7 separate regions of the Homo sapiens genome follow, and regions 1, 2, 3, 4, 5 and 7 are each linked to region 6. Evidence: promoter capture Hi-C in 16 types of primary human blood cells and fetal thymus (Javierre and others, 2016). All regions are on one chromosome and are shown on one strand. Each heading gives the region's core, a stretch centred on a gene start or on the middle of the fragment in contact. The rest is flanking DNA. Distances are from core to core; before and after follow the strand shown. Region 1 overlaps B4GALT7 (beta-1,4-galactosyltransferase 7). Region 2 has its middle 9.1 kb from the start of MXD3. Region 3 holds the start of PDLIM7 (PDZ and LIM domain 7). Region 4 overlaps DBN1 (drebrin 1). Region 5 overlaps RGS14 (regulator of G protein signaling 14). Region 6 holds the start of RMND5B (required for meiotic nuclear division 5 homolog B). Region 7 holds the start of PRR7 (proline rich 7, synaptic).

Region 1 (3,152 bases), core at 252-2,751, 520 kb after region 6:
AAGCCTTCCCCAAGCACTCCACACAGCTCTCATTTACAGTGCCACACTCTGGGTCCCACTAATGCCCCATCGGCGCTCCTCAGCACCCAGCAGCAGAATCCCTGTCTTCCTCGAGGCAGCGGAGCCTGAGGCAGATCCTCTGCATCTCCACCATGCCCCTGTTTTCCTCTCAGCCCTCCCCATCTGCCCTTTCCAGCAGGGGAGAGGAGGGAGGCCTGTAGGGAAGGAACACCTGCTCATGGGCACCTGCTGTACAGGGCAAAGGGGAAGAAACCTGGCTCTGAAAGTGGATTCCAGGGGTTCCCAATCCCAGCCCCCCATCCCTTACAGCTCTGCGACCTTGGGCAAGCTACTTGCCTGTCTGTGCTTTGCCTTCCTGATGTACAGAACCAGTGAATTAGGACCCAGCTCTTAGGTAGGGAGGCCTAAGTGAAATGCGGTGTGGAGAATTTGGTTATCTGGTGAATGTTCAACAAGGGATGGTTATTATTATTGCAACCACCGCCTCACTGGCCAAGCGCTGTGCCAGGTGCTCCTACATCCTGGGTAGGTTTCGGCCACGCCCTGGCCAGCAAGGCAGGGATGTCAAGTCCATTCCACGAAGGAGGCAAGTGGGGCACTGAGGCGGCACAGGACTGCCGCTTCTCGCCACCCATGGCTCAGGCGTCTCCCACTCTCCTGGAGAGTGGTGGAGGCCCAGGATGCAGAGTGAGGGGAGCTGCAGATTTGGAACGCGTCAGGCCCAGCCTGGAGTGCCCAGCACAGCCTTGAAGATGGAGGTGGGGGTGGCGGTCAAGGGAAGCAACAGGCTGCAGGGCTAGGGATGCACCTAAGCTCAGGTGTCAGCTGATCTCAGAAGGTGGAGGGACCTTCGCTTTTCTTCTGCTCATTGCACTCCCCCAGTGCAGGTGGAAAGGAAGGAACCTCCATTTTCTGAGGTCTTCCTATGTGACAGGAGAGTGCAGAGCTGGGAGCTTTGATATTACACCTGTTCCCACCAACTCCCAAGAGCTGGTGTTACTGCCTGGTGTCCATGTCAGTCCAAGATGAAGCAGCTGGGATTGTCCAGGGAACTGGCACAGTCCCCTCTCCACCACCCCTGCACTAGAGTCGAGGCCTGTCTGCCCATCACAATAGTGGGTGTGGCTGAATCGATGGGGAAGGTCAATTTAGGATCACAAAGACCCTGGACTAAACACCTGAACCTGAAGCTTTACCCCAGCCCTTTCTGCTTAAATCCCTCGGCTTATACACAGGTTACACAGTGCGCAACCCACACAACTGCACACAGCAGCCCTGATCATCCTCAGAGAAGTCTTTTGAACCAGAGCTGTGGATTCCACCTTCCTGAGCTCTGGGATGGTGCTCAGGAATCCCTTCCTTCAGGACTCCAGGTGTCCTGGTGTTAAAACAAACCCACATTACTGGGGCCTGATGGTCTCCTCTGCCTTCTGCCTTGCATCTTTGGCAGCCAAATGCCTTGGAGTGGCCTACATGCAGGGTCCCTTGCCTCCCACTCTCATGGGCTCTGGGCTTCCCTCCAAGTGATTCCCCCAAGAGCACTCCCCAGTTCATGTCTTCTCACTGCTCCTGGGCATTCAGTGACCACTGTAATCCCTCTGTGCTGAGGGAACACCACAGGGATCCTCCCACTTCTCCCCTTCTCCTCCCCACTCAAGCCATGACCCGAGGCACCGGCTGAGTGCCCTGCCTGCCTCTCTCCAGTCCTGTGGGTGAATCTCCTCAGCCACTCTCCCTCCTCCGTGTCTCAGTGAGGCCGGAGGAAGCTTACCCAGAGAGAGCCTGAAGGTGGTAAGACTGCTCAGAAGGGCATTCGGGGGCTGCCCAGAAGCCTTGGTGGGGTGGAGGTAGTACAGGAACCCTCACACCTTTGGCTTCTCCTCCCCCCTGGACTTGTCGTCCCCGCCCCACCCCAATTCCTTGCCAGCTTGTAACTCACCCGTCCCCTTGCCCCTCAGCCAAAAGTGACATGTGAGCGGTCCACGACACATTTTGTCTGGCCTGCCATACTTTTTGAAAGTTTCATTTAGGTGCTATCATTTAAAAAATCAGAAGATATCACTTAAGAATCCAGCATTCTAGTTTCTTTCGAAAAATCAGAAGATCTGGCAACACTAGGCCCACATTCCGGCATGGCAACAACCAGCTAGAGCGGTGCTGGCTGTTCCCCCTCTGTGGGGCTTGTGCTCTGGTTTCTGAAGTCCTAACCCTCACCAGGCCCAACTGCCACCTACGCCAGCTGCATGGCCCCTACACTGTGTCTCTGCACGAGGCAGCCCAGCAGGAAGGAACAAAAGTGGGGGTGATGAGAGGTTGTCCTGTTCAGCCCTCCCCACTACCCACAGGCCTGGGCACGTGAAGGAGGTCAGAGTAGGGTGAGCAGGAAGGCAGGGGGGGTCCCGGACAGGACACACCCCAGCCTCTCTCTGATCACTGTGCATGGCAAGCAGCGTCCCAGGCACCCCACGTGTCCTGGCCCAGCCCAAGCCTGCCTTGGCGGCCGGGTGGCTGCAATTGCGTAGCTTGCTGTCTTGGTCCTGGCCACTCCACATCCTGTCAGAGCTGGGCCCACGACCTGAGGCCTTGTCCTGAGCCTGAGCAATATGGCCTGTAGGTACAGGCTTCCTCACTGTCCATCCAGCTCAGCTGAATGTGCACCAGGGTGTGGCGGTCTTGTCACAGTCCAACATGATGTTGAGGACAGTGCAGGGGGCCCCGCCCACAGACAGGGCAGTGCGGGAAGCCACATGGTACTTCACAGTGTTCAGGCCTCCCTCCCTGTCCACCTTGAACTGCTCCTGGGGAGGAAGAGAGGAAAGAGCACGGACTCAGGGCTGCATGGGTGCCAGCTACCCACTGACCCCACACAACCTCGCCATCAGAGGTCCTGTGGTCCCCACTGGAGAGGAAGAACCCAGAGCTCAAAGCAGTGAAGCCTCTTGCCCAGGGCTGTGCCCCACTAGGAAGCAGGCGAGCCGGGATCTCCAGTTGGATGCATAAGCCTCCTAGAGAAGGGGCTGTTTGAGGGTGGGATCCCTGCATCCCGGGTGTGGCTGGGATTCTGGCACCTTCAGCTACGCCTCCGCCACCCCACCCTGCCAGCCTGCATGGACCCTGAGGTCTGGGCTGAC
Region 2 (2,980 bases), core at 445-2,944, 810 kb after region 6:
AAAAAAAAAAAAAAAAAAAAAAAAAAAATATATATATATATATATATACACACACACACACACACACACACACACACATATATAAAAAACTGTATATAATTATATGTAATTAATATAACAACAAAAATTACATAGACAATTTTATATAATTTCTGTGTATATGAGATATATATTATGTGTGTATATGACTGAGGAAGCCAAGCTCATAGGCCTGTGGAGTGAAGTGTTTCCTCAGAGACCAGGCATGCTGTTGGAAACATGAGGGAAGAATAAGCAGTTAGAACCACCTGGAGACACGGATATGCAACTTTTTAGTTGACATAAAGGACTCAATATAGGGGTTGATAACAAAATGGATTCACCAAATTAGTTGAAGATCAACTAATTTGAAGATCAGATCAAAGATCAGAGGACCTTGGGAGGAAACACAGAGATGGAGATTTATAAAGAGATTTATAAAGAGGAGATTTTTAAAGAGAATGGGCCCGGCATGATGGCTCATGCCTGTAATCCCAGTACTTTGGGAGGCCGAGGCAGGCGGATCACGAAGTTGAGATCGAGACCATCTTGGCCAACATGTTGAAACCCCGTCTCTACTAAAAATACAAAAAAATTAGCTGGGTGTGGTGGCGTGTGCCTGTAGTCCCAGCTACTTGGGAGGCTGAAGCCGGAGAATGGCTTGAACCTGGGAGGCAGAGGTTGCAGTGAGCCGAGATCGTGCCACTGCACTCTAGCCTGGTGACAGAGCGAGACTCTGTCTGAAAAAAAAAAAAAAATTAAAAAAATACAAAATTAGACGGGCATGGTGGTGCGTGCCTGTAGTCCCAGCTACTCGGGAGGCTGAGGCAGGAGAATCACTTGAACCTGGGAGGCGGAGGTTGCAGTGAGCTGAGATCGTGCCACTGCACTCCAGCCTGGGCAACAGAGTAAGGCTCTGTCTCAAAAAAAAAAAAAAAAAAAAAAAAAAAGAAAAGAAAAAAAGGAATATGGAGAATATAAATGGAAATCAGCAACCAAAAGATAACTGAAAAAATCCTTTGTATCTGGAAACTAAAAACATACTACCAAATAACATTCGGACTTAAGAATAAATCATAATGAAAGCCCCACACTAAAAGAGGAAAGCTTCAGGACCTGGCTAAAGGAAGAGAGGTTTGTGGCTGGAACAAGAACATTTGCAGGGTGCCCGGATCCCTTGAAGAGGACACCCTGACACTGACCGTGGGAACAGCCTACGCTACACATGCAGGCGTTCAGGTGGAGTACTCTTCCCATACTCCAGAGAACAGGCTGAAACTTTTGACTCAGCAAAGGCCAGAAGGAAAAGGGGAAGTGGTTTATCAAGTGCCTGCTGGAGCATATAACATCCCAGACACTGAGCACTTGCATACAAGTGACCGACATGGCTGGCCCCACCGCTTGCCAGTGCTGCCTGGTCAGTGGGTTAGACTCATCCCATGACGCTAGCAGGGTAGTTGCTCTTGTTGTCTTTGGAAGGACCTTTTCTCTCCTTTTCTTTTTTGAGATGGAGTCTTGCTCTTGTTGCCTAGGCTTTAGTGCAATGGCACAGTCTTGGCTCATTGCAACCTCCGCCTCCTGGGTTCAAGCGATTCTCCTGCCTCAGCCTCCCGAGTAGCTGGGATTACAGGCATGTGCCACCACACCCGGCTAATTTTGTATTTTTAGTAGAGACGAGGTTTCTCCATGTTACTCAGGCTGGTATCAAACTCCCGACCTTAGGTGATCCACCTGCTTTGGCCTCCCAGAGTGCTGGGATTACAGGCGTGAGCCACCATGCCCGGCCATGGAAGGACTTTTTCAAGAAACCGATGTGGTCAGTTTTCCGTATACCTCCAGGTGTTCTGTTCTGGCGTCTGGGTGCTCCACCAGCACGGAGAAAGACGAGTGCCCTGTGGCCTGAGTCCCAGGCACTGAACACTCTAGCCTGGGCAGCAGCTCCGGGAGGACTCAGCTTCCCGAGCACCGCCCTCAGGTTGGGAATCCACAGCAGCACCCACAACACACCACACAGTGCACCAGCCATCAAGGGGGCGCACAAATGACCAGGGCTGCCTTCCAGGCAATGGCCACTGCCTGGTGGATCCAGTTAGTAAGCCAAGAGCAGTTTGAGGACATACCATCTCCATCTGGCATCAAACCACCCTGCTCACTGCGCCAGTTGTTGTAAGGACACCTTGGATTTGTTGTCCTTAGATATGATGTAACAGACACAGAAATGACTGCCATGGTGGGAAGAAGCTTATACTCACAGTTCCCTAGAAACAGGCGGCACCGCACACTAACACGGGCCACACGGGGAAGCACCAGTGTTGGTCGGGGGCAGAGGGAGGGAGGGGAACTGTGGGGCAAGAGCCTTTATTGTGGTTTGCTTAGGAAGGAACCTGAGAGGCAGAGTGAGCAGGTCTAGGATTGCCTAGCTTGAATAATTTCAATGGGTTTGGGGTAGGATGTCCCTAGTTGTCCAGTCTCTGGGGGATAGTGGTGCAGCGTGTAAGAGCCCAGTAAAGGAGGTGGTTGGAAGGTATGGGCTCTGGATTGGTTAGTATGAATATGAAAGGCACGGCACGCTTGCAGGTGAGTGAGTGAGTTACTATCTCTAGGAATTGGATGAGAGGATGGAGTATGATGAACCTTTGATTCCTGGAGGGCCATGAGTTCACTGTGGTATGGAAATGCAGCTGTGCTGTGATCAGTTAGTGGAGGCAAAAATTAATAATGAATTTTAGAAATGATGGATGCAACTCCCAAGGAGTTAGTTCACTGGACGTATAAGGAAATGCAAAGTAACTAGAAACAAGCTAAATATACCATCCTATTGTTCTCTGTAGCAACAATGAAGGCAAAAGATGGTGATAGGGCAGATCCTGAGATTGGGCCAAGCTTGGATTGTGGCTGGTCTGAGCTACAGCTATTCCCAGGGCCACTTTTGAGGGGGAAAATTATGCTGAAACAACAGTGA
Region 3 (3,393 bases), core at 115-2,614, 630 kb after region 6:
TTCCTGGGGAGAGGTCAGGCTGGCCATGAAACATGGGATGCCTTTGCATATAGGTGGTGTTGAAAGCCACAGGACAGTACGGGGTCTCAGGGGGTGAGCATAAAGAGAGGCGACATCAGATGGCCAAGGCCAGAGGCAGAGGAGGATGGGAAGGAGGGGCCAGTGGGGCAGGGGGAAGCTGTGAAGCCAGGGAAAAAGGGTGTTTCGCGGAAAAGGATCAACCTGGACCAGTGCTGCCCCTAGGCAGGGCAGGATGAAACTTAACCACCACGGATTCCATGGCCCCATGGCCTCCAGGCCACAGGGGACCTTGAGAAGAGAGATCTCAGGGGACGGGTGCGGACAAGAGCCCGCCTGGCATGGCTTCAAGAGATAACTGAAGGAAAGCAAGTGGAGACGCGATAAACAGACAACTCCCTGGAGGAATTTTACTCTCGAGAGGAGAATTAAAGGGTAGTAGCTGGAGAGGGATGTGGGGTCAAGAGAAGGTCTTTAACGACGAGAACTCTCACGGCGGTTTGTGCAGAACAGGGTGGGTGTGATGACTGTGGATGGAGAGGGGAGAACTGCAGCGACTCTGTCCTAGGAGGAGGTGATGGGCCGGGACCACCAAGCGAGTGGAGGGTGGACGCCCCTTCCCTCACCCCGACACCCGCATGTGCTCAGTGTCCGTGCCGCCGGCCCTAGTGCCTGGGCTGAACGCGGGGCCGGGACTCTGAGGACGCCTCCCAGGCGGCGCAGTCCGCTCTGGCCAAGGTGGAGCGGGACGCGGCGCTTCCGACGGTGCGCGGGTCGGCTCGGGGTTGCAGGGACATCCGGCGTCCGCTCCTGCCCTGTTTTCCTGCCTTCGGCAGAGCGTTGCGCAACTCTAGCTTTAAACGCCCCTGTCCCCCTCAACTTGTCTCCCCCAGCCCCTCTGATTTACAGATTCTGCAGTCCCCGAGGGTTGCGCCTACGATACCGACACTCGCGGCAGCCCTGCGAGGCGAGTATGATCGTCCCATTTTTCGGAGTAGCAAACTAAGGTTCAGAGACTACTATGTCCCAGGTCGGTCTGGTTTGAAGGTCCGCTTTCCTCTCCCTCCGCCAGCGGGCGGTGCGAGGGACTGGGCGAGGCAGCGCTTCCCTAAGGAGGCGACCCGCAGCCCCGGCCCCCTCCCGACTCCGCCCCGTTGCAGGGCCCGGGTCGGCGAGGCCTCTCAGCTCTAAGCCCGACGGGACTTGGTGATTGGGCAGGACGGAAGAGCTGGGTGGGGCTTTCCACCAGCGGAGAAAGTCTAGTGGGCGTGGTCGCGACGAGGGCGTGGCCTGGTGCCCCGCCCCCGTCCGCGCGCTCAAAGTGGAGGGTGGCTGTGGGGGCGGGGTCAGAACACTGGCGGCCGATCCCAACGAGGCTCCCTGGAGCCCGACGCAGAGCAGCGCCCTGGCCGGGCCAAGCAGGTATCGACGACCGCGCGGGGCGTCTTGGGCTGCACCAGGCGGGCGCCCGGGGCCTGCTGAGGACCACAAAGGGCACTGGGGGTCGTGGTCCAGGCTGTGCTTCCTCCCGCTGGCCCTGGCCCCTGCCTCCGCCCCCGCCCCCGCCTTCCTGCCGCTAAGCCGGCTGCGGCGGGGCCGATTGGCGCCTGCGCCGCTTCCTGCGGCCGGGGCCAGTCTAATGCATGGGGCCCGGGCGGGGGACTAAGGGGAAACTGAGTCACGTCGGTGTGGGAGCAGTTCTGTGTGGGAGGCACCACCCCCCACTGGGCTCGGGGAAGGATCCCCCTCCAAGCTATGCTTGAGGGTCCCAGCCCCCATCTGTCTCCACAGGGGCCGCACCCCACTCCCGCCTTCCCCTTCTTCAGCACCCAGGGGTCCCGCCCTGGCTCCCAGCAGCCTCGACTGGTCCCGGAATGGCTAGGAGGATCCGCTGCAGCCGCCTCCCTCCCCTCCCCTCCCCTCCCCTCCCCTCCCCCCCCCCTCGCGTCCCAAGCCCCCGTGTGCTCCCTCCGCTGGCTCTCCGCACAGTGTCAGCTTACACGCCTTATATAGTCCGAGCAGGCTCCAGCCGCGGCCTGCCTGCCGGGACCTGGGGGCGGGGGAGAGGAGAGCCGGCCCCTGACTCACCCGGCCGCCCGAGGCTCCAGGCTGGCTTGGGGGGAGGCCGCGCCAGTTTAGTCCCTCGGCCCACCCCTGGTTGCAAAGAACCTCAAGCCTGGATTCAGGCACCCCTCACCGTTCCAGTCCCAAGGGGAGGGGGGCTGCTCCTGTCTTTCCAAAGTGAGGTCCGCCAGCCAGCAGCCCAGGCCAGCCTGACAAAATACCTGCCTCCTATGGCTTGGGCGTGCTCAGGGGCTGCCCGTGCCTGCCTGGCCCCTGTCCAAGGCTGGTATCCTGAGCTGGCCCGGCCTGCCTGCCTGCCCGCCCACCATGCTGGCCACTCACCTTCTCTTCTCTCCTCTCAGGAGCCGGCATCATGGATTCCTTCAAAGTAGTGCTGGAGGGGCCAGCACCTTGGGGCTTCCGGCTGCAAGGGGGCAAGGACTTCAATGTGCCCCTCTCCATTTCCCGGGTGAGCCTAGGTTTGGGGAGGGGGCTCCCCCAGCGGTCTTTCGGTGCTTAGGTCTCCAGAGGGTGATGGGGGGAGTCCTAACAGGAGCTGGTCAGGGGCCAGCAGGCCAGGAGATGTCTAGGTCCGGAGATGTAGTGGTACCTGCCTGCCACAAGGACTCCCAATGAGGTGGATACTGGGAGGGAGCACCCAGGCTTCTCCAGCCCTGCACTGTACCCGATGCTGTTCTCCCAAGCTCCTGTGGCCACCTCTGAGGGCTGGAGGGAGGCTCATTGTGCAGGATGGGAGCCTAACATTTCAGGAGGTATCTAAACTTGAGGTGGCAATGCTTGGAGCCAGGCCCCAGGCAGGACACTGTGACTATAGGATTTCACTTCAGCCTCACTGCCGCCCAGGGAATAGCAATCCTCATCCCGTTTTTCCAGATGAGAGAAGAACTCATGGAGAGGTGGCGGGGCTCGCTCATCGAGTCCATGGTGAAGCAGGGATTGGAATTGAGGCACAGCATGGCGTACATTTTTTGTGGGTAGAAGGGGTCTCTCCCCAGCCTATGTAAGGACCCACATCCACTGTTCCCATTCAGGATGTGGTGGCCTTTGACCCCAAGCAGAAGTGTAGGACAGGGCTCCATTCTAGGGGCTTAACTTCAGCTTCCAAGAGCCTGCCCTGGTGTGGGTGGAGCTGGAGGCTGGCTCCTCCCTGTAGCAGGGGGATTGCCTTATAAGCCCAAGAATGCAGCCCCACGCTGGGATGGCCAACAGTGGCTGCGGTCTGCAGAGCTGAAAAGGGCTGGCCTAGGCCTGGCCCCCTGAACCCCACTGGTGGGCCTCTCAGCTGGTCAC
Region 4 (3,464 bases), core at 601-3,100, 660 kb after region 6:
CTCAGGCTTGGCCACCCCGGGGCCAGAGTCTGGGCGAGAGTGACTGCAGTGACCTCATCCCCATTTCAGAGAGGCGGAGATTGAGGCTGAGGGCGGGTCCCCAGGGTCCTTTGTGTTCAAGGAGAATGCAGTTGGGGTGGGCCAGTCGTGTGCCAATTGCAGGGTTGCCATGGTTACTGGGGGATGCCCAGAGCTGTTGGGAGCACCAGGTTCTCTCTTCTCCTCCTCCCTCCCCGGGGGAGGGGCAGCGGGGACCAAGGCACGTGCCAGGTAAGTTCCTGGCACTAGCCAATGGGGGATGAGGATCCTGGTAGCCAGGGAACGGTAACCAAGGAACCGTCGCCTTGGAATCTCCATCACACACCCGCTCCACTGGGTTGTAGGCTGCCAGGGCCAGGGCCGGGATGCTGCGCACTGAGCTCGACCAGCCAGCAATTTCTCCCCTCACTGCCTGCGCCCCCCTGACCCAGGCCTCCAGCAGTACCCTGCTGGGCTCCCGCCTGAACCGATGCCTGGCCCTGTTGTCATGGCTACAGCAGGAGCCCTCCCCGTTCCTGTCCTACCCACTCCATGTCCCTCTCCCTCCCCAGAGCCGTCCCCACCCAGAATTGGCGGCCTGGGCCCTGACAGTTTGACAGCCACCCCTCCCTCTCCCCAGGGCTCTGTACACATATGAAGATGGCTCCGATGACCTCAAGCTTGCAGCATCAGGAGGTAGGAATTCCAGCCATTCCCTCGCCGCCTTCTCCACCCCCTCCTCCTGGTTGTTTTCTTCCCCACCCACCTGGCTGTAGGCCACCTCCCTGCCTGCACCCTGCAGCCCCACACTTGTCTGGATCTGGCGGGTGTCCTTCCTCCAGTCATCCCTGTGTCCCCAGGGTGGGGAGGAATCTCAGAGCCTTGTTGAATGTTGGACTTCTGAGGCTGAGCCTCCAACAGGGAAAGTGACTTATCTGAAGCCACACAGCTGGGACACTTTGGGGGAAGGGCCCTATTCACCGCCTTCCCCAGAGCCAGAAGGCTTGATTGTGCCTCTGGGCACTGGCACCTGGTGAGACATGATGATGTGTGAAGAATGAGACCTGAGTGTGAAGAACAAACACTTCCTCAGTCCTACCCCCAAATCAGGCCCTGCAGGAGTCACAGGCAAAGCTACATCCCTGTGCGCCACCACCCCCACACATACCAACACAAAACTGGGACCCACAGACCCCAGAGGCCAGAAGACCCCTGGGGGTGCCTGTGGAGGCCTGGAGGAGTCTTTGCTTTGAGTTCCAGGCTCTTTTTGGGAAGGGTTTAGGAGGCAGAGAGACCTGACACTCTCCTGATTACCCTAGAAGGGGGCTTGCAGGAGCTTTCGGGACACTTTGAGAACCAGAAGGTGATGTACGGCTTCTGCAGTGTCAAGGACTCCCAAGCTGCTCTGCCAAAATACGTGCTCATCAACTGGGTATGCGGCCGGGGCTGGGGAAGGGGGCTGAGGGCCCAGAGCTGCTCATCAACTGGGTATGCGGCCGGGGCTGGGGAAGGGGGCTGAGGGCCCAGAGCTGCTCATCAACTGGGTATGCGGCCGGGGCTGGGGAAGGGAACTGAAGGCCCAGAGCAGTCGCCCTCCCCGTCGGCCCTCTGACACCCGTGGAGAGGGAAGCCCACCCTCTTCCCACCCCGGGGAAGATGCACCCTATCGTGTAGGGCCCCCCTTGTCCTTTCCTGACCCCCTCTTTGCTGGGTACTTTGCAGGTGGGCGAAGATGTGCCTGATGCCCGCAAGTGCGCTTGTGCCAGCCACGTGGCTAAGGTGGCGGAGTTCTTCCAGGTGCGTGTCAGGGGCCAGCGCTCTTGGGGGTGGGGACAGCCACCAGGGTCTGCGTGCTGGGGTGGGGATGGCGGGAGGATGGTGCCGCCTGAGCACTGCCGTCTTCTTGCGGAAGGGTGTCGACGTGATCGTGAACGCCAGCAGCGTGGAAGACATAGACGCGGGTGCCATCGGGCAGCGGCTCTCTAACGGGCTGGCGCGACTCTCCAGCCCTGTGCTGCACCGACTGCGGCTGCGAGAGGATGAGAACGCAGAGCCCGTGGTTAGTGTGTGTTTGGCACCCGTGGGCTCTGCCTGCGTGGCCTGGTGCCCGAGTCTGGCCTGCCCGGTCCCTCTTAGCTCTCACCCTTTAGGTGTCGGGGGTTCCTGGGGCATTCAGCCTGCTTATGCTGGGTCCTTCGACACTGCAGGGCACCACCTACCAGAAGACGGATGCAGCTGTGGAAATGAAGCGGATTAACCGAGAGCAGTTCTGGGAGCAGGCCAAGGTATGGAACCCTGAGCCCGGCCTGGCTGAGCCACCCCTCATGGACCCCATGGGGCAGGTCTGAGTCCCTCACTGCAGTGGCATGGCCCATGCCACGTGCCCCGCCCCCAGCGCTGGGTTAGGGAGGGGCTGGAGGGGCAGGGTCCAGGCGCCTAGGCTCGGGGCCTACCCTTGTTCGCACCGGGGCTTGCAGAAGGAAGAAGAGCTGCGGAAGGAGGAGGAGCGGAAGAAGGCCCTGGATGAGAGGCTCAGGTTCGAGCAGGAGCGGATGGAGCAGGAGCGGCAGGAGCAAGAGGAGCGCGAGCGGCGCTACCGGGAGCGGGAGCAGCAGATCGAGGAGCACAGGTGAGCCTGCCCGCCCGGAGCGCTCCAGGGGCCCCCGGGCGCACCCTGACGGGTGCTGGCTGCTTATCGTTCCAGGAGGAAACAGCAGACTTTAGAAGCGGAAGAGGCCAAGAGGCGGTTGAAGGAGCAGTCTATCTTTGTAAGTTCTTTGCCAAGGCTCCCGGTCTCTGGGTCAGGGAAGTGAGAATGGTCCCTGTGTTCCTGGGCCTTGTGGGGAGATCAGTGGCTCAGGGACAGTGGTGGCTGTTCTGGGGAGCTGCATGGGCACAGGGTGCCATGGAGCATGAGGCCTGGCACCTCATCACGTGGGGCTCTGGCCTCTGGCCGTGGAAAAAGACTACTTTGGAGAAGCTTGTGCTCTAGATTGGAAGAGAAACTCCATCTAGACCCAGACCCTCACTGACCAGGCTCCCCCTCCCCTGCCCTGGGGTTTCTCGGCGATTAGACACTGTTCTGCACTCTGAGGGGCCACAGGAGTGAGGCAGGCGGCATGGGTGAGCCTGGGCCAGTGCTGAGCATCTGCAGGCAGTGTGTACCATCTCCTTGGGAGCAGCATCTCCCTGGGAGCAGCCCCTTTGTTCCAGGGGTACTGTCTGAATCTCCACACATTGGGAATGGCCCGTAGGTCCTGTGGATTGGTCCCTGAGAATCACAGCAGAGTCACATCTCCATGCTTTGAATTTAGTATTTTGGAAATAGCTAATGTCATTCAGGACTGAGCATGGCTCAGTTCAGGAAGGGAGGTGGGTTGATACTCATCTGGATTGGGACTGTAATGGGCAGATGCATGGCTGTGGGGACTCAAACGGGCTCCGGA
Region 5 (3,164 bases), core at 129-2,628, 760 kb after region 6:
CCGGTTCAGCAGCTCCACCAGGCCTGGAGGCAAGCCACAGCATGAGGGTCCCCCCAGCAGACCTGCCTATATGCCAGCCCACGATAGTCCCACTGCCTTACTGTGGCCACTGCCTCCCTGGCCCCAGCACCAATGGCCTGCGGCCCCCTGTTCCAGCCCCTTTGACCCCCCAACCCCCATCCTTCCTGTTCCACGCCCAGTGGCACCCAGCCCCCTGCCTTAGCTCAAGGCTCTCTGATGCCACCCTGAATGGTCCCCAACCCCACTGCCCTAGTCTTTCTGATCCCCAGCTCATCCACCATGTACCTTCGATGTCACAGGTCTGCCGCTTTCCAGTGGCACTACTGGGCACCTTCACCAGAGAACTGGGGGACGCTGGAGGGGGATGGGTGGCCTTATCCTGAGTTCTAGGTGGGCAGCCCTGCGAGAATTTGGGGTCAGAGCCAAAATCGGGAGGGGAGAAGCAGAGGGTGGAAGAGGCCACTCGCCTTTCGCTCACCTGGCTGCGGCAGGGAGATTTGTCACGGGCTTTGGAGATCTTCACACCTGCAGCAGAGAGGGCCACAGTTAGTGTTTGCCTCCCACCTGGACCCCCTTCCTCCTGGGCCACAGCTGTTCCAGATCAAGCCCCGAGGCCAGCGTCCCCTACCTGGAAGAGTGTCCAAAACCAGTCTCTGGGCCGCCACCGAGCTCACTAGCTTCCCCAGATCCAGAGGCTGTTTCTCGCCTGGCTGTGGGGAGAGGTCAGCAGCCCGCGGTACAGGCCTCCGCCCGGCCCCGGCCCCGGCCCCGGCCCCGGCCCCGGCCCCGGCCCCGGCCCCGGCCCGGCCCCGCCCCGCCCCGCCCCGCGGCCCGGAAGCTCACCCGGTGCAGCACCACCTCTAGCGGGCTCAAGCCGTGCTTCTCCAGAATGGGCTGCAGCGCCTCCTGCAGCCGCTTGGTGGGCTTGGCTGAGATTCGTACCACGCGCTCCAGCGCCGTCAGCTCCAGCCTGCGAGGAACCCTCGGGCAGCAGAGGGCCGGAGGGCCGGCCCCCCGCCAAACCCTTCCCAGGACAAACGCGAGGGGGTGGAGCTTGAACTGCAGAAGGTGGGACTGGCTTGTAGGGGGCGGGGTTTGTCCCAGGGGCGGGGCTAGCACGAGGGGCGGGGCCTGGGGAGCCAGGTAGCTAGAACAGGGCCTGAAGGGAGCGTCAGGACCTGGGACCCAGACTTGGGGGCAGGACACTCACTCGAAGGTGATCCTGTTTTCCAGCCGCACTTCCTGATCCGCCAGCACGGTGCAGTCCTGATCCAGGACCAGGGCCTTCTGTGGATGCCAGGCAGGGTCTAAGAGTCCCTCCCCCAACCCCCAGCCATCCCTGTGGGTCTGAGAACAACTTCACGCCCTCCCATGGCCACCACTGGGCTTCCTAGAGGAAGGGATGGAGGGTGGAAGAGCTGTAGGGGAGCAAATGGGTTAAGGTACCAAGCTGGAGTCCAAGCCCAGGAAAGCCAAGGCCAGGGAGAAAAGTGGCAAGAATGCTGGACATTCTTGGGAAAGGACAGAAATTACGAGAAACGTAGCTGCTGGCATGAAATGATAAGGGGCAGGCCTAGATCCGGGATCTCTGGCCTACTCTTTCTGTGCCAGGACAGGCTCTGCCTCCAGGACAGCTGTCTCGTGTCCCTCAGGTGTGTGAAATCCGACCAGACCAGCTGGAAGCATTTCCTCCCTCACCACCCACCTTTGACCAACCACCCTGGCCTGGTCCCATTTTTGACATTTGTCCACTTCTCTCCATTCCCCGCTACTAAGGACACTTCTTGTTTCCTCATTCAAAAAGGGCCCACCCTCAAAACTGCTGTGAAACCAGAGGATGTGAAGCATCTGGCACAATGCCTGGCACACAGTAGGTACATAAACAGTAACTCTCGTGATGACCACCTTCAGAGGCCCCACTGCCTGCTCCAGCCTGATGTGGGGGTTGGGGGCAGCATCTCCCAGGCAGTAGGCTTATGCTGTGCTGCAGGAGCAGGTGGAGTGTGGGTGAGGAAGTTATATTTAGCATGTATGAAAGCCCATCTGGGCTGCTGGCAGCCGCCCTAGCGGCCTGAGAAGAGTGGGCAAAATGCCTCCCACTACTGCCCTCGCACCCCTGCACTCCAGGCCCCTGAACATGCCCCGCAAGTACCCACCTGCAGGCCTTTGCCTAAGCTGTTCCCTCTGCCTGGAATATCCTCCCCCACAGCTCTGCCCATCCACATCTACTGCTGCTTCTTCCATGAAGCCTTCCGGACACCAGCCAGAAATGCCTACCCTCTCCCAAGAGACCTTCTCTGGAGTTTTCACTCTTCCTCCTCCCTGATCACTCCCTGCTTGGCTTACTTTCAGCCTGTGGGCCAGGAGGACAGCCCCAGATCTAGGTTCCTCTCCCCCACACACCTGGCAAGGCCTTAGGACTTGTCTACTAGGTAAATGAAATCCCGATGGCCCCCTGGAAGGTAGCATTCTTCCTTGAGATTCCCCTGACTGAATGGTTTCCTTTAAAGCCAGTTTTCCCCTAGGTCTTCTTTAAAGTTTAAGCTAGTTTGCACCTAAAGGAAAAAGTTCATTGGTTAGGTGCACTTGGGTGCCCCTAGAGGCTAAGGAGGTGAGGGCACCCCACGGATGGCCATTTCCAGGATGGGTCTGTGGGGATGGGAGTCTGGACTCTGGGAATGATGAGGGGCAAACCCCAGCTCCAACAGTGGTTCTCTCCAGTTTTACCTCCCTAAGGTCACCACAATAGGATGATGGATGAAGGTGGAAACCTGGAAGGACATGAGGTGGGGGGTGGGTGGATGTCTGAGTGAGTGAAAGTTGGTGCTGAGGGTGCTTTGGAGTTGGGTTTAGAACTTGAATTGGGGTTGGAGCCATGACTGAGCAGAGACAGAAATGGAGTTGGGGTCAGGATCAGGAAGGAGGTTAGAGTTGGAGCCAGGTCACGTTCCCACCTGTTCATTGCCCACCAGGTAGACCTTGATGTCAGGTAGAGAGAGGCCTCGTTTCTCACAGATCCCTGCCAGCATGTCTCGGATGGTGAGGCCAGGTCTGGCCAGGGCCAAGGAGGCTGTGCCATCGGGCAGGTACACACAGCAGTACTTCCCTGGCCGGCTTTCACTTTCACCCTCCGTGCTCCCAAG
Region 6 (3,250 bases), core at 606-3,105:
AAACAAAAACAAAAAAAAAAGATTAGACAACCTCCATTGACCCAATTCTTAACGCTTTTTTTTTTTTTTTTTTTTTTTTGTGAGGCAGGGTCTCTTCAGTTAATAGGGTTGCTTAAAAAAAAAAAAAAAAAGAGAGAGACAGGGTCTCAATCTGTTTCCCAGGCCAGAGTGCTGTGGTACAATCAGGGCTCACTGCAGCCTCGACCTCCTGGGCTCAAGTGATCCTCCCACCTCAGCCCCCCACCCCAAGAAGCTGGGACTACAGGTGCACCATGTAGTCCCACCATGAACACTCCTGAGTTCATGACACATGTAAGTGGTCCATGCAGGGCCTTTTCTCCTTTGTGTTTATTTATGTATTCCCTTTTGTCCCTATTCTTCCCCTCTCTCCCCACCACACCTGGCTAATTTTTTTGTTGTTTGTTTTTGAGACAGAGTCTTACTCTGTCGCCCAGGCTGGAGTACAGTGGCACGATCTTGGCTCATTGCAACCTTTGCTTCCCAGTTTCAAGCGATTCTCCTGCCTCAGCCTCCCAAGTAGCTGGAATTACAGACACCTGCCACCACACCCGGCTAAATTTTGTATTTTTAGTAGAGACGGGGTTTCACCATGTTGGCCAGGCTGGTCTTGAACTCCTGGCCTCAAGTGATCCTCCCGCCTTGGCCTCCCAAAGTGCTGGGGTTACAAGCGTGAGCCACTGCGCCCAGCCTAATTTTTTGGAGCGACAGGGTTTCACCATGTTGGCCAGGTTGGTCTTGAAGTGCTGAGCTCAAGCCGTCTGCCAGTCTCAGCCTCCCAAAGTGCTGGAATTACGGGCGTGAACCACCGTGCCCAGCCAATTCTTATGCTTTTGCAGCCGCGACCTCCATCCACTCTCTACCCTACATGTCACTCCTCTGCTTAAAACCAAAAGATTTCCACTGTACTTAGAAAAAACTCCACATTCCTCTCTCTGACCTACAGACTCTATGTGACCAAACCCCAATTATCCGACCTCATCTCCTACCACTCTTTCCCTTTCTTACCATACTTTAGCCACACTAGCTTGCTTTCTGTTCCTTGACTATACTCTCAGTTGATTTCTGCCCTAGGGCCTTCACACTGGCTGTTCCCGCTGCCTGGACCACTCTCTTCCCGTATCTTCCTAAGCCTGCCTCCTAATTTGGGTCTCAACGCAAATGTCCCGTCCTCAGAGATGCTCTGCTAGACCACAGTATCTAATACTGACCCCTCCGCCCCACCCTCACACCAGTTACCGTGTCATATCGCCCTCCTCCATTTTTTTTTTTTTTTTACTATACAGTCCTACTTGAAGTTTCTAATCTTTCTTTTCTCATTAACCAAAACTGGAGGGAGGAAAAAGCCCATCATTTTCCCTGGACAGCAGCGCCTACTGGGAGTTTCACCCGCATTAACATGCAAACGACAGGCAAACTCCTAGTCATCCTTCCAAAGACCCTGCTCCATAGCCCTGCCGAGCCCGGTGCGCACCTGCTCACTTCCGACCCAGCGCGGTCGCACGAGGACTGGACGTTTGAGTCCGAGCAACTCCCCCCGGCTGAGGCGGCTCTTCGGGGGCTGGGCCGGGACCTATGAGTCTGGGACTCCAGCTCCCGGCCCAGGGCCGACAACTGCGAAGAGAACAAGCCCAAGGGCAGATTGTTCGGGGCTTAGTCGTGGGTAGCAGGGGTTCTGGAGAAGGCTGGGGCCCGGGAGGCCGGCCGAGCTTTCCCCGCCGCGCGCCTCAGCTCCGCCGGCCGCTGTGCCCGCCCTCGGCCCGCACCTGCCGGCTCCCAAGCCCGCCCGCTCTCACCTCGCCCCGCAGCCCCGGCCCCGGCTTCCGGCGCCACTGTCATCGGAACCGGAAGCCGCGGCGGGCGATCGGCGGCCCGGGCCCGCCCATTGGCGGTTTTGCGGAGGGGTGGCCGTCCCACGAGCCCGCGGCTTTGCGCCTCACCGCCGAGGCTCCCCGCCGCGCATGCCGAGTGGAGTCGCCCGCGGGAACCGGGCGGCGGCCAGAAAAGCCGCGCCTGTAGTCCTCTGGGGGTCGCGCCTGGTCGTTTCCAGGTTCCGAGTCCCTCCGGCCCGGCCCCGGGCCTCCCAGTCGGCGGAAGCCCCTGGCCGCGACCGCTCCTCGCCGGCGGGCGGGTTCCCCACCCGGCAGAGGCGTCGGCCTCGCACTCAACCCAGCACCCGACTCCCGGGTCAGAAGCCCCAAGCCCCAAGTGGTTACGCTTACAGCGCTGCCCGCCCTGCTCAGTGAGGGCGGCGCGGGGGCCGTGAGGGGCAGTGGCTGGGCTAGGTGCGCACCGGCCTCGGCAGGGCTGTGGAGCAGGGTCTTTGGAAGGATGACTAGGAGTTTGCCTGTCGTTTGCATGTTAATGCGGGTGAAACTCCCAGTAGGCGCTGCTGTCCAGGGAAAATGATGGGCTTTTTCCTCTCTCCAGTTTTGGTTAATGAGAAAAGAAAGATTAGAAACTTCAAGTAGGACTGTGAACAGGCTTAGGGATCCTGGACAGAGCCTAGAAATCTCAGGAGAACTGAGAGCTCTTGAAATATGAAGTGATGCTTAAAAAAAAAAAGAAAACTCCAGGCCGGGCGCGGCGGCTCACGCCTGTAATCCCAGCACTTTGGGAGGCCGAGGCGGGCGGATCAGGAGGTCAGGAGATCGAGACCATCCTGGCTAACACGGTGAAACCCCGTCTCTACTAAAAATACAAAAAATTGGCCGGGCGAGGTGGGGGGCGCCTGTAGTCCCAGCCACTCGGGAGGCTGAGGCAGGAGAATGTCGTGAACCCGGGAGGCGGAGCTCGGAGTGAGCCGAGACGGCGCCACTGCACTCCAGCCTGGGCGACAGAGCGAGACTCCGTCTCAAAAAAAAAGAATAGAAAACTCCGGGCCGGGCGGCTCACGCCTGTAATCCCAGCACTTTGGGAGGCTGAGGCGGGCGGAACATAAGGTCAGGAGTTCGAGACCAGCCTGTCCAATATGGTGAAACCCCGTCTGTACTAAAAATACAAAAATTAGCCGGGAATGGTGGCAGGCGCCTGTAGTCCCATGATCCTAGCTACTCGGGAGACTGAGGCAGGAGAATCGTTTGAACCCGAGAGGCGGAGGTTGCAGTGAGCCGAGATCGCGCCATTGCACTCCAGCCTAGGCGACAGAGCGAGACTCCGTCTCAAAAAAAAAAAAAAGAAAAGAAAAGAAAACTCCTTTCCTGTCCCAGCCTTTCTGGTCCCCTTAGCCCGA
Region 7 (3,444 bases), core at 632-3,131, 680 kb after region 6:
GGGAGCAAGAATGTGGCTGATTTAGCTGGAAGAAGGAAAAATGTACCAAGACCCGAAAGACAGGGAATGTCCTCACTGGAGGAAAGTGAAGGAAGAAGGCTCTACAGTTCTTCTCCTGGGTTACAAGAGAAGTTAGCTAGCAGGCAGAGAGGAGCTTTGCCCCCAGAGAAGCCTGCAGTGTAGACTCAGCTCTGCCACTTACTGGTAGTGTGACCTTGGGCAAGTCACTCACCTCCCTGAGCCTCCCTTTAGAGTCTTCATCTCTAAAATGGGGATAATAAACTTACCTTGCGCAACTGTTGTAAAAAAAAATTAGGAGATAATGGATGCAGAGCACTCAACACAGGTCTCACAGAGCAGGAAGGGAATGAAAGGCACCCGTGAGTAATTCCCCAGGCGCCCCTGCCTGCAGGAGACTCAGGCCTGACCTCCAGGGCACCACCCATCTAAGGGCATCTTATGCCAAGGCCTCCAATGCCCCAGATGCCAGTCACCTCTAGGATGCCTCCCCGGATGGGAAAGGAAACCCAAGGACGGTTGTGGTCGCTGGGATCCTGGATCTGAAGCCCGCGGTCGGGGCTGGCATCTGCTGAGTCAGGCCTGGGAGAGCTGGCAGGAGGGCCATTTCTCTCTCCAGCATGATGCCCGCTGAGGGGAGGTTGGGAGGGGAGCCAGAGGTCATTTCCTCTGAGTCAGAGGCCATTCTCCTCCCAGAGGAGCTCCCCTGGCGGACCAGGCACCTCCATGTGGCGCGTGCCTCCCTGCCGGCCAACCTGCATGCTACTCAGTACAGTTGGGGCATTGTGCTCAGACAAGAAAGGGGCACTTGTGATCCAGACAATGGGCTGGGTCGCTCCCATTTGGCCTGGGCTTCAGCTTCCCTGGGTCAGCAATATCCTTTCCTCTGCTCCTGCCCACTCTGCTTCCACCCCTCCCTGGAGAATGGTGGCTAGGAACACGGAGCAGAGACTCACCGCGGGCCCATGCCCGGTTTGGCACGTGCCTCGGCCGTGAGGAGGAGGAGGGATGCAAGCTTCGCTCCTCTACCCTGGTAAGAAACGTCGCCCCTGGGGAACCCAGCTCGGCTCAGGCCATGTCCAGGGCCGGCGCGATTAGGTGGTGGCGGCGGTGGGTGGGTGGGTGGGGGGTCTATGGGCAAAGACCCCAGCGCCAGCCTCCATGCCTCCTCCTCCCGTGACAAGCCCAGGGGCTGGGCCGCCCCCACGTTTGCAGCCACCCCAGGAGCCCTGCTGCGACGACTGCAGCCACGTGGGAGCCAGCTCGTGCCCACGGCCGTTCGCCCCCACCCCCACCCTCGACGGGCTGTGGAGGCAGGCACACCCAGCCGGGCCAGAGGGGCGACATGCCCCCGCCGCGCACCCCTCTCCCCCTGCACCCCCGGGCTGTGGGCCCGCGTCGGGGGAGGGGGGAGGGAGGGGGAGGGGGCGTCGCCGCCCCGCAGTCGTGTTGCCGGGGAGCGCAACCCCGTTGCTGTGGCAACCGTTTCCAAGCGAACTGGTGGCGGCTCGCGCCCCGTTCCGGCTCCCTCGCTCACTGGCGCTCTCCCTCCCTCCGGTGTGGACTGGGGGAGGGGCTGCTCGCGGCCCGGGCGGGGGACCGGGGCGGCGACCCGGGGCCAGGGCGCTGAGCCGCCCGCGGGGAAGGGCTCAGTCCTGGGACCATCTTCCGCCCGCGCTCCGTGCCCGCCCGGCCCGCAGCCGCCGCGGTACTCACGGGCCCAGGCATCCTCCTCGAGCTCGTTCTCCTGGCTCGGGGCGAGCAGCGCGGGCCCAGCGGACAGAGCCCCGGGCCTGCGGGGGGAGGCGGCGGCGGCCCGGGGGAGCAGACAGTGGCAGCGAAAGCGGCTCCGAGCGCTGGGCTGGAGGCGCGGGGCGCGCGCACGGGCGCGTACACGGCGGGTGCTGAGCCCGGCGTGCGCGCGCGCGGCAGCCGGCAGAGGGCCCCGCACCCCCAGCCACACGCCGCGAGGAGGCTGCCCCCGGAGGGAAGGAGGGGGAGGACGGTCACCCACCTGCGGCGCCGAGACCCGGTTCTCCAGCCCGCCGGGCTCACACCCGCCAGGGCACCCTCACAGGGGAGGCACACGCCGGCCGACCCGGTCCACACTCCAGGCTGGAGCCCAGGCCACACCGGTCGTGCACGCTGGATGCACAGCCAGGCAGCTGAGGTCGAGAACCCGGACGCGCACACAGCTCAGCTCGGAGAGCACACACATGTCCAGGTCCCCGTCACATCCTGACAGGCGCTGCGCACACGCAGTGGGCAGGGGCCCCCGAGCAGGCAGGCACCCCAACGTGGCTCCCTCCCAACTCACGACCCCTCTCGCTAGGTGCCCAGCAGGCGTACACCACCACATGCCTACTAGGAAGCCACGGGGAGGAGGACCTAGTGCCGAACCCACAGCCCTGGCCTCCGTGGACATGCCTCCCCCCTACCCCAGCAGGGAACAGATGACCCCTAGAGAGCGCCCCACTGTCTACCCCGAGGTCCAAGCTTGCAGAGGCCACTCTGAAGTTGGCTGTCCATCGGCCTCTTAACTGGGCTGTTTTTCGTCCAACTTCTCTACTGCACTTAAGATGATTTGCCAAAAACCCCTCCACCACCATATTAGCTGGAACATTTGGGGTTGAAGTGACAGAACTCCCAAACAAATAGGTTTGAGCTGTACCCCGTCTCTACCAAAAAAAAAAAAAAATCTGCACGCCTGTGGAGAATCGCTTGAATCCGGGAGGCAGAGGTTGCAGTGAGCCGAGATCACGCCACCGCACTCCAGCCTAAGGGAGGGGGTGAGACCCTGTCTCAAAAAAAAAAAGAGAAAGAAGAAAGAGAAAGGACAGAAAGAAAGAAAAATAAAAGAGAAAGAAAGAAGAAAGGAAAGAAAGAAAAGAAAGAAAAAGAGAAAGAAAAGAAAAAGCTTTGAGCTCAAAGGGGACTGGTTCATGCAACTGGCAAGTCCCAGGGTAGATTCTAGCTTTGGTCACAGTTGCTTCCAGGTGTTCCCGCAATGGTGTCAGGCACGTATCTGCTTCTGTTTGCATCACTCTCAGGCAAGCTCACCCCAAGAAGTAGCGAGGACAACCCCAACAGCCCTAGGCTCATATCCTGCCATCTATCCCTGGAGGAAAACGGAACCCCAATTCCTTCCCCATCATTTGAGCAAAATACAAGCAAACAACTCCATGAATGATTCTTTTTGGACTCATTTGGGCTGAGTCTCTATCAGTGAACCAATCTAAGTGCCTGTGTGTTAAGGGAGAGGATATGTGCTCCTTATGCAAAGGGAATGGCCTCCCAGTACCCGCTCCCTTTTCTTTGTATACAGGCACCCTGATTTCAATGGGGGAATCACTGCCCCACGGGTGCCATCCTGGTGAAACTGTGAACCCAAGTGCCCTGCTCCCTGACAGTGCACAGCAGGCAGGT

The links. Contacts are between HindIII fragments. The CHiCAGO score rates a contact against its expected background, and 5 or more counts as called.
Region 1: a fragment that was not itself captured here is called in contact with the fragment with the promoter of RMND5B in region 6 in 7 of 17 cell types (total CD4 T cells, naive CD4 T cells, naive CD8 T cells and 4 more); the score reaches 8.9 in total CD4 T cells.
Region 2: a contact is called between a fragment that was not itself captured here and the fragment with the promoter of RMND5B in region 6, in 1 of 17 cell types (naive B cells). The highest score is 5.6, in naive B cells.
Region 3: the fragment with the promoter of PDLIM7 here is called in contact with the fragment with the promoter of RMND5B in region 6 in 4 of 17 cell types (erythroblasts, total B cells, megakaryocytes and 1 more); the score reaches 11.1 in erythroblasts.
Region 4: a fragment that was not itself captured here is called in contact with the fragment with the promoter of RMND5B in region 6 in 1 of 17 cell types (naive B cells); the score reaches 5.0 in naive B cells.
Region 5: a fragment that was not itself captured here is called in contact with the fragment with the promoter of RMND5B in region 6 in 1 of 17 cell types (naive B cells); the score reaches 5.3 in naive B cells.
Region 7: a contact is called between the fragment with the promoter of PRR7 here and the fragment with the promoter of RMND5B in region 6, in 1 of 17 cell types (naive B cells). The highest score is 5.1, in naive B cells.

The regions. Positions count from the first base shown.
Region 1 is chr5:177,609,207-177,612,358 of GRCh38, reverse strand. B4GALT7 (beta-1,4-galactosyltransferase 7) reads right to left here. Exons shown (of 6, transcript NM_007255.3): 6 at 2,029-2,819. The coding sequence ends at 2,664. Among named protein-coding and RNA genes, the nearest start is that of B4GALT7, 11 kb to the right of the region's middle. The HindIII fragment of the contact is 576 bases long and covers 1,214-1,789 here.
Region 2 is chr5:177,319,462-177,322,441 of GRCh38, reverse strand. No RefSeq gene overlaps it. Among named protein-coding and RNA genes, the nearest start is that of MXD3, 9.1 kb to the right of the region's middle. RefSeq lists enhancers at 1,503-2,002, 2,003-2,504. The HindIII fragment of the contact is 1,134 bases long and covers 1,128-2,261 here.
Region 3 is chr5:177,495,575-177,498,967 of GRCh38, reverse strand. It overlaps PDLIM7 (PDZ and LIM domain 7), which reads left to right and starts at 1,364. Exons shown (of 13, transcript NM_005451.5): 1 at 1,364-1,440; 2 at 2,445-2,551. The coding sequence starts at 2,456. RefSeq lists enhancers at 1-490, 709-758, 1,971-2,712 and silencers at 969-1,678, 2,089-2,168. The HindIII fragment of the contact is 22,050 bases long and covers 1-3,393 here.
Region 4 is chr5:177,466,094-177,469,557 of GRCh38, reverse strand. It overlaps DBN1 (drebrin 1), which reads left to right. Exons shown (of 15, transcript NM_001363541.2): 2 at 659-714; 3 at 1,338-1,450; 4 at 1,741-1,815; 5 at 1,931-2,077; 6 at 2,226-2,303; 7 at 2,496-2,647; 8 at 2,723-2,786. Among named protein-coding and RNA genes, the nearest start is that of DBN1, 5.8 kb to the left of the region's middle. RefSeq lists enhancers at 275-820, 821-1,366, 1,913-2,458. The HindIII fragment of the contact is 2,300 bases long and covers 701-3,000 here.
Region 5 is chr5:177,368,732-177,371,895 of GRCh38, reverse strand. RGS14 (regulator of G protein signaling 14) reads right to left here. Exons shown (of 15, transcript NM_006480.5): 9 at 2,976-3,164; 10 at 1,232-1,305; 11 at 865-991; 12 at 650-731; 13 at 500-546; 14 at 307-421; 15 at 1-23. Among named protein-coding and RNA genes, the nearest start is that of RGS14, 12 kb to the right of the region's middle. RefSeq lists enhancers at 2,095-2,164, 1,713-2,564. The HindIII fragment of the contact is 3,760 bases long and covers 1-3,164 here.
Region 6 is chr5:178,129,619-178,132,868 of GRCh38, reverse strand. RMND5B (required for meiotic nuclear division 5 homolog B) reads right to left here and starts at 1,855. Exons shown (of 11, transcript NM_022762.5): 1 at 1,815-1,855; 2 at 1,493-1,632. RefSeq lists enhancers at 222-751, 2,030-2,681, 2,682-3,250 and a silencer at 1,709-2,298. The HindIII fragment of the contact is 11,712 bases long and covers 1-3,250 here.
Region 7 is chr5:177,445,251-177,448,694 of GRCh38, reverse strand. PRR7 (proline rich 7, synaptic) reads right to left here and starts at 1,881. Exons shown (of 4, transcript NM_030567.5): 1 at 1,735-1,881. PRR7-AS1 (PRR7 antisense RNA 1) reads left to right here and starts at 751. Exons shown (of 3, transcript NR_038916.1): 1 at 751-1,051. RefSeq lists an enhancer at 596-1,224 and a silencer at 1,167-2,256. The HindIII fragment of the contact is 1,481 bases long and covers 1,036-2,516 here.